Regions from separate parts of the Homo sapiens genome. Here region 1 is linked to region 2. Evidence: promoter capture Hi-C in 16 types of primary human blood cells and fetal thymus (Javierre and others, 2016). All regions are on one chromosome and are shown on one strand. The core of a region is centred on a gene start or on the middle of the fragment in contact, and the rest is flanking DNA. Distances in the headings are between cores, read along the strand shown.

Region 1 (4,255 bases), core at 49-2,548, 140 kb after region 2:
GGACCTCAATATCAAATTGGGCTCAATTCTGGAATACAACTAAAACAAGTGGAGATCTATACACAAGTTATAGGTTGGTGTTGGGGGAGGAGTCAGTGGATGGAAAATTGCTTAGAGGAGATATTAAGGCTAGGGAGACCAATGCTAAGTTGACTCAATTGGATTTTTTTTTAAGGCAGGCCTGGAATCAGGTATCACATGAAGGATGATGGGGGAATTAAGGAATTTGGTCAGATATTGAGGGGGAGAGATTCATGATAAACCCAAATCTCTAGAGCAGATTGTCACTAAATGACAGCAGAGCGGCCGAGGAAGACACACAGACACTTCCAGATGAATTTGCAAAGCAGTTTATTGCAGGGTTCACAAGGGACTTCAGCTCAGGAAAGCTGAAGGGGTATGGAGACTGATGAGGACAGTTGCTGATACCCAGAGTACATGGAGGGATGGGATCTTGGCTATGATTGAGGAGCTTGGCAGATGAGTGATGATGAGGACTGCTGATACAGGAGCTTAGATGGTGGTATCCAGGTGAACTGGAACCACAGGATACCGTGGAGAATCCCGTGGATCTCTGTTGTCACATGCAACTACATAGAACCTCCTTCCTGGTCTGTCTGCATACGTGCAGTTTGAAATATTCTGTGCACCTGGATTTATGAGGTCACAGTGGAGTAAAGGCACCCGGAATCTACTCCGATGACAATTGTTGAGAGTTCTGTTATGAGGGCAGCGTATACTTTGGTTACCACAAACATTAACTACATTAGCAAAAGTTGTACGAAGAAAAGTATTTTGGTTTTTGCAACGCCATCGATAATTGTTAATTGCCCGCATTGCAATGGTGCATCGAGGGGGGTTCAGACTGATGTGCTGGATGGCAAACCACTGAGCCCTCGTAAACTGTGGGGGTCTGGCATGGAGTGAGCCCTCCACACCCATAAGCCCCAACAGAAGAAGCAGACAAATTTGGGAAGTGAACAGTTTTGGAACCATGTTTCCTGTAAGAAAAGAAGAGAAGTAACTACTCCCCGATCCGGTCTCGGTTATGACACACTCTATAGTGTCTCAACCCACAGGCCCCTCTGCTGCCACTCTGGGGTCGCATTTCCTTTTCTTCCTGTCCCCAAAGTGTGCCACATCTCCTAAGCACTAACTTCAGCTCACCTCTCCCTCAGGTGCTGCCCTGTCGCTGCCCCTCCTGTCCCAGCTCTGGGGATTGTTGACTTACCCAGTCTCTGAGCTGTGGCTCCTGTGAGAACTGATCCAGCTGGTTGTTCTGGGGTTCAGGGGCAGCTGGTCTCCCCTACTTGGAACTGTTTAAATAAAGCTTCCCTTGGTGGGTCTGGCCATGCAGAAACCCACAGATTGACACATGGTCCACTTGTGCAATCATCCTTTTTATTTGATGACTTGGCTGAGCAACGGATACCCAAGGACAGCCCTGCTGCTCTTTCTGCTATACGGACTCTAATTCCAAGTCATCCTGTGTTAGACAGAGTTTTGCCGGTGGGATCTGGACTCTGGGTGAAAACTATACGCTGCCGGCAGAATGACCACAGATTTTATAACTGTCCTCTGGCAGGCCCCTAAATGACTAAATGACACGAAGGCAGGCATAGTAGTTAGGAGAAATAGAGCCACAGAGGGCTGTTTGCCCAGGAGAAACCCAGCTTCCCTTCCATTTTTAGTAATATCCTTGGTTCTCTCTCACATAAATGCTCTCCATCTCATCCACCACTCTTGCTGGAAACTTGAGCTATTAATTTCTTGGGGCACAAGATTCTGTAGATAATTAAAACAATCTGCTCCATACAATTGAGGAATTTTTTTCTTTACTCCTCTTGCATTGGATCCACTTTCTCTTAAGTCTTGCCCTGATTATTGATTCCACTTTGTGTAAAGTTACATAACCTAAAAACACACCGAGGACAGTTGTAAAATCTGGCAGAGGATGAATGAACATTTGGTGTCATGAAAGATTCCAACCTAGCACTCGGTATTCCTGTGATCTTTTCAGCCTATGGTATTTTCTACAAAACAGTGTGTTCTGGGGTTGTCATTCATCTTCCTGGTAAGTTTCATTTTGTGATATTAACAAGAATATGGTTCTGTATTTACAAATGAACATTTAAGGACAGAGCACTGTATTCCTGAAAGTATAGAGGTCAAGTGTACAGTTTGATACACAAAGCATACATTTATTCTTGGCCCTCAGAGAAACACAGGAAAGTACTTGTAGACATATAATTGTATTACAGTGTGATAGAGGTAATAGCATTTGTGTGAACATGGTGTCATAGGGACACTGCTGGTGAAGGAAATCACTTGGCTTGAGAAATAAGGAAAACTTCAAAAAAAAGTTTATTTCAGCAGGTCCTAAAGGATAAGCAGGGGATTTTCAGGGGATTTAGAGAAGAGATGAGCATTCTGGGCACAGGGGATGATGTGGGGAAATTGTACAGAGGTGAGAAGTGAATTGCAAAGGTAAGGCCTGGGTACTAACAGATGTTAAATCTGGTCTAGCTTTGAGATTAGAAAATGGAAAGTAGACCCTTAAATGATATAATATACCTTCCAACAGTTAATCTGCCTAATTTTTACTACCGTCCAATTTTCCTGTCATTTAGAAATGCAATAATTTTATCACTGGGGTCCTTAGGTAAATGTGGACACAATGGTGACCTGGTGAGGACTCAATGCGCAGCTAATATTGCTCTGCCTTGAAGTCCTGTTCTGGCCGACATTCATTAGCAGCTTTATCATGAGGCAAGTTTATTTTTTCATGTATATTGTGTGGAGATCATTTTTGTAGGTGATGAGAATGTAAAGGTGAATGATACGTAGAGTATCCCCTCTGTGATGCTGACAGCCACACTGGCTAGAAACATTTGCACTTAAGTGTCTATAGTATGAGGCAAAAGACATAGACTGCAGCCCCAGGGCAGGTACTTGGCTAAACAGTGCTTCTTTTCAGCATACACAGTGCTATTTATGATGTTTGGTTTGGAAGATAAAGTTTGACATTGGAATAGTTCACTAAAAGTTTTCATTACTGTCTTATCTTTAAAAATCACATGATGGTGGTTGGTGCACCATTGGTGTTGTATCAATTAGAGCTGAGTAACAGCTGCGTCTGTGGAAGGGGCTCTAGCTCAGGGCTGTTCTCTGACTCCACTCTCCCTCCTGACTTTTATCCTATCTGTTCAGTGATGACACCTGCCTGGCTCCTGAAGACATCTGTGCTTATGACATATCAGACTTATTGAAGTGTCTTAAGCAGACCATAACCTGCCCAATTTGCAACCATATTCATCCTTTAAAATTGTGGAGTTTTTTGTTTTTTGTTTTTTTTTGAGACGGAGTCTTGCTCTTGTCACCCAGGCTGGACTGCAGTGGCGTGATCTCACTGCAACCTCCACCTCCGCCTCCCAAGTTCAAGTGATTCTCCTGCCTCAGCCTCCTGAGTAGCTGGGATTACAGGCGCTCGACACAATGCCCGCCTAATTTTTGTATTTTTAGTAGAGACGGGGTTTCACCATGTTGGCCAGGCTGGTCTCAAACTCCTGACCTCAGGTAATGCGCCCACCTCGGCCTTCCAAAGTGATGGGATTACAAGTATGAGCCACTGCTCCCAGCCATAAAAATTGCATTCAGAACATGCTCATAAGGTTTTTCTGATTGTCCCTTGTGTAGATTTCCTGCGTACATTTCCAACTACCTTCATTTGCCAGCAGAAGTAGTACAAATGATCTACTTTGATATTTATGACCTTTGAGAGAAGATGTTTTATATGAAGCAGGAATAAAGTATAAGTCAACATTAAAGAAAATTATCTGTTATGATCTCTGTAATCGAAACAAAATTCTCTGTAACTTCAGCATGATTTTGTCTTGAACAGACACAAGGCACTTCACCCGGGCTCTTTATTTTATTAGCATAACTTGTCTTGCAGCCTAATTTAACGACACATTTTCAGACCTGATCCACACTTCCAATGAGAGGAATAGTCAGAATTACGCCCTAGTGTTAAGTCATTTTTTGGAAACCGATGAACATTGTAAAATATTATCCCAGACAAAGACTTCTGCATTTGTGGTAAAAACCACTGTTGAGTACACTGCATTGATCAATGTCTTTTTTGCATAGCATTTATGTGCAAAAATATAATGTTCAATGCTTGCAATTTCTTCAGCCCCAGGGTACCCTTGCAATATTTGCTCTTAACCTGCTGACAGGGAGGTACCAAACCATC
Region 2 (4,453 bases), core at 993-3,492:
TTGCTACACCCTTTTGAGGGGTGGGGGTGGAGAGGTGGATATCAGTAATGTGTGAACACAAGTAGTAGATACTTTTACCTCCACATCTGGTTCATCTCTTTACTCCAAATATATTCTTCCATCCTGTTCTTGGAAGCAGCTGTTGAGGAGGAATGCTAACTGATGGCTGGTAGGCATAAGGCTAAGCAGAGCGAAGGGTGTGTGGTGGAGAACCCACCCTCCTGTGCTGCCTCTTCTCCCTCTCTCTACACTAGTAGGCTCATCTGTCCCTCACAGACAGAGATTTTGGCTGCTGCACACACAGATGTTTATTGTTTTCCAAGCTCCCTGGTGTTAAACATGCAGGGTCAGGGGGCTAGCAGGCTGAGATGAAGCTCCTCTCTACTTGGTCTTCTTATCGTAGGTGCCAGAACCCTTGTAACCACTCACATAGCCTGTGTTGTCAGTCATCTCTTCCCGTCCCGCAATGCCCTTGCCCTTGCCACTCTCATCAAAGCGCTCCTTGTGGGTGCCGGTGTACTTGCTGGTGTCTGTCAAACGGTCCACTGCACCCACTGTTGTTGCTTTCTGCAAGCCAGGGATGGATTTGAGCTCTCTTCCTTTCCTTACGCTGTCATATCCCTTCCCCAAAGATGGCCCGAGATACTTAGAACAAGTGCTTGGAGCTCTTGCTCTGCCACTGGCATGGGGTGCTGCTTTCTTAGGGCCCAGATACAGCTGTGGGCAGGTACTCTGGTAAGAGCCGTTCACTCATGGGGGAGGAGGAGTGTGGTGTGGGAATGAGTGTGGCGTGTGCAGAGGGAGGGTAGGTTTTTTGTTTCCAGAGGAGTTATTCTGACTAGGCTGCTGCCTGAGGACTTCACTCCCACTCCCCGACTCAATATCCACTGTAGAAAGAGCTTTTAGTTCAGACAGGACAATTAAAAAAGGGAGTAGGTGAGAGGCAGGAGGCCTGAGATTAAACCCTAAATAAGAATTGGAAGAGGAGTGGGCATCAGGTACCAAATTCTCTACACTAATGTCCTCCAAAAGCTACCAAGCCCTAATTGCCTGGCTCAGATACTAGACACTTGGAAATTAGTCTAAATCTACTATTAAAATAGCCATGGACCTTGGGCAAGTCACTTCCCTTCTCTGGGCCACATTTTCCTGACTTCTGGAATGTCTAGATGATCTCTAAAGTCTGTTTCGGCCCTGTCTCTACAGTCACACAGTTGGCAGGGTTAGGGAGGGTAGACTGGAACAATGGGGATTTAGGGAAGTAGGGTCAAGGGGATGAAGGCTGTCACTCACAGTAGCGCCAGTGGTGGCTGGGTCTTTGCCCTCCATGAGTCCATAAATGTTCTCCAGGACTTCATCTGGACTCTTCCCTTTGAAGCGCTTCTGGCCCAGTTCCTTCACTGCCTCTTTGAACTGTTGAAACGTGATGGTTCGGGCGTTCTTGGCCCTGGTCAGTTAGACAGAAATCCAGAAACTTTGGAGCATGAATGCATTACCTTCCAAGGTCCAACTCTTGCCTCACTCAGATTTGGCCTCTTTTGTCCTATCAATCAGTGAGTGTCTCGAAGACAAAGGATAGCACAGCGCCAGGTACCCTGTGGTGCTTGGTAGGCCCACTGCAAATGTTCCACCACGTGAACCCTTCCGTGGCCAACTACCTCGCAGGTTCTTCTCACCCCCACCTCCATATTTTTGGCTCCTCACTTGACTTTGCTGAACACGATGTCCACGTCCGTGGAGGTGACTGTCTTGCCATCCATGATGCCACAGTCTTTGCACAGCTTGGAGAAGTTCTTGTTGTTCATTTCAGTGCCACTGCTTGATGATTCTCCAAACGCAGCAAACCGATGGAATGTTTTTTCTGCCTCTGATGCCATGGTCAGCTAGAGGTCGGGGAGGGCAGTCGTGGGAGACACTTGGGGGTGAAGGAGAAGGGGGAGGGAGGACTGTGGAGTAATGAGGATGAGTGTTATGGTAAAATCAGTCAGCAACAGGAACAGCTCCCCTCTTCCCTGTTGCTCTCTCCTTTCTCCCTCCCAGCTCCCATTGCACCTACGCAACTACAGCATGAGTCTCCCATTCCCAGCATTGGAGATACCAGTGTGGATCCTACCTACTGAATGATCCTCTCTTTCCCCTACCTCTTTTATGTACCTTAGAGTACCCGGATGGTGGTCTGACCCTTCCCGGCCTTTGTATTTAAGTGTGTGCAGATATGTGGGAGCCGGTTGGCTGTGGCAATGAGGAGACAGAGGGAGGAGAGGGAAGATTCTATGACCTCAGCAGTGGTTATGTGACATCACTTCTGGCCCCAGCTACAGCCATTGCCTTCAAAGGAGGGGGCTTTTGGTCTCCCTACCTTGCATGCCGAATTGAGCAAACTGCCAACTTTCTGACCTTTTCAGATGATCACATTTCCATCATTTCAGCCAAGCTTACCCATCCTCTGGGTCCTAGTCAAATTGCCTTATGCTCTGCCCCACAACAGAAGCTGAGGCGAGCCCAGGGAAGGTGTTGTAGTCTGTTTGGGCTGCTAGAACAAAATATCAAACTGGGTGGCTTATAAACAACAGACATTTATTTCTCAGAGCTCTGAAGGCTGAGAAGTCTAAGATCAAGGTGCTGGCAGATTCAGTGTTTGGTGAGGGCTGCTTTCCGGTCCATAGATGGCACCTTCTTGCTGTGTCCTCACATGGTAGAAGGGGTGAATGAGTTCCCTTGGGCCTATTTATAAGGGTATGAATCCCATTCAGAAAGGCTCTGCCCTCATAAAACTTAATCACCCCCCAAAATGCCCCATCTCCTAATACCATGACTTTGGGAGTTAGGATTTTATTTTATTTATTTGCGTATTTATTTTGAGATGGAGTCTCGCTGTCTGTTGCCCAGGCTGAAATGCAGTGGCATGATCCTGGGGCACTGCAACCTCCAGTCCCAGGATTCAAGCGACTCTCATGCCTCAGCCTCCCCAGTAGCTGGGATTAGCCCAGCCACTATGCCTGGCTAATTTTTGCATTTTTAGTAGAGACGGGGTTTTGCCATGTTGGCCAGGCTGGTTTCGAACTCCTGACCTCAAGTGATCCACCTGCCTCAGCCTCCCAAAGTGCTGGGATTACAGGTGTGACCCACTGCGTCCAGCCGGGAGTTAGGATTTTAATATATGAATCTGTGGACAACATAAACATTCAGACCACAGCAGTTAATGAAAACGGATTAATGAAAACAGGCTGTCATGTTTTCTAGTCTCCAGGCTCAAGTGTAGCATGGAGAATCCCACTGGCTTTAAAAGGCCAGTCGCAATAGAAACATTAAATAGCTTCCAGTGTTGGGCCCAGCAAGCCTTGGAGTATAACAGATGTGGACAGGTCAGGATAAAACTGGGATAGACTGAGGGTGAGGCTCAGATTCTGAAAATCTTCAGATAAGTTTCTATGCAGGTCAAAGATGTTCCTCAGGGTTTTCTCTCTTCGGCCTTTTCTCTGGCCAGAAGCACTACAGATAGATGAACCTCACGGATCCTAAAACAGAGCAACGAGACTGGTGACTTTCCTCCTTTTCCCATCTAATAATGCCACCACTTTCTATTTTTTTTCTTTGTCTTACAAATCTATGCCTTTCTTTCCATTCCTATTGCTTCCACCCTTATTCAAGTTCTTATCATCTCATAGTTGGATGACTACTCTGGTTTCTAAATGATCTCTTTTCTAAATCTAATTCTTCACTCCCACCCACCCATAATCCATCTCTATTACCTCCTCCCCATCAGATTAATTTTCACAAAACAGTATTTTTTATTACTCCTGCTCAAGAATATTCTGTGGCTCAAGATATACTATAGCTTCTCATTGCTAAATCTTTTTGCTTAGCATTCAAGGACCTATACAACTAACTAGGCCCCAATCTACCCTACCAAACATCACCCACCTCTCATCAACATTATTCTTGGGCAGGGCACAGTGGCTCATGCCTATAATTCCAGCACTTTGGGAGGCCAACAAAGTGAGACCTTGTCTCTAGATAAATAAATAATAATAAAAAAATTAGTTGGGAGTGGTGGCATGCACCTGTAGTCCCAGCTACTGAGGAGGCTGAAGTGGGAGGATTGCTTGAGCCCGGGAGTTTGGGGCTGCAGTGAACTAGGATTGTGTCAGCGCACTCCCACCTGGCTGACAGAGAGACCCCATCTCAAAAACAAAACAAAACAAAACAAAACAAAAAGAACCCCAAGAAACAAAAAACCTAAGAACCAGATTATTCTGCAGCTGGGGTCATATGGCCTAATTGCTATACACTTGACAGGCTACTTGGGAGTGGAAGGAGCATAGTCCCTGGAGTGGAATGGACCGGGGTGGGGAAATGAATCCTAGATATGTCATTTACTAGCTGAGTGGACTTGGGCAACTCACTAAACATTTCTGAGTTTCAATTTTCTCATCTGTACAGTGAGGACGAT

What was found. Contacts are between HindIII fragments. The CHiCAGO score rates a contact against its expected background, and 5 or more counts as called.
Region 1: a contact is called between the fragment with the promoter of RNASE3 here and the fragment with the promoter of TPPP2 in region 2, in 8 of 17 cell types (erythroblasts, M1 macrophages, monocytes and 5 more). The highest score is 15.0, in erythroblasts.

Annotation. Positions count from the first base shown.
Region 1 is chr14:20,888,428-20,892,682 of GRCh38, reverse strand. It overlaps RNASE3 (ribonuclease A family member 3), which reads right to left and starts at 1,298. Exons shown (of 2, transcript NM_002935.3): 1 at 1,232-1,298; 2 at 335-1,001. The coding sequence starts at 996. The coding sequence ends at 514. The region is part of intron 1 of LOC100507513 (a long non-coding RNA gene); the gene reads left to right. The HindIII fragment of the contact is 4,045 bases long and covers 1-1,332 here.
Region 2 is chr14:21,028,006-21,032,458 of GRCh38, reverse strand. TPPP2 (tubulin polymerization promoting protein family member 2) reads right to left here and starts at 2,242. Exons shown (of 4, transcript NM_173846.5): 1 at 2,155-2,242; 2 at 1,705-1,946; 3 at 1,294-1,447; 4 at 1-567. The coding sequence starts at 1,877. The coding sequence ends at 382. It also overlaps a transcript of NDRG2 not described here. The HindIII fragment of the contact is 5,962 bases long and covers 1-2,436 here.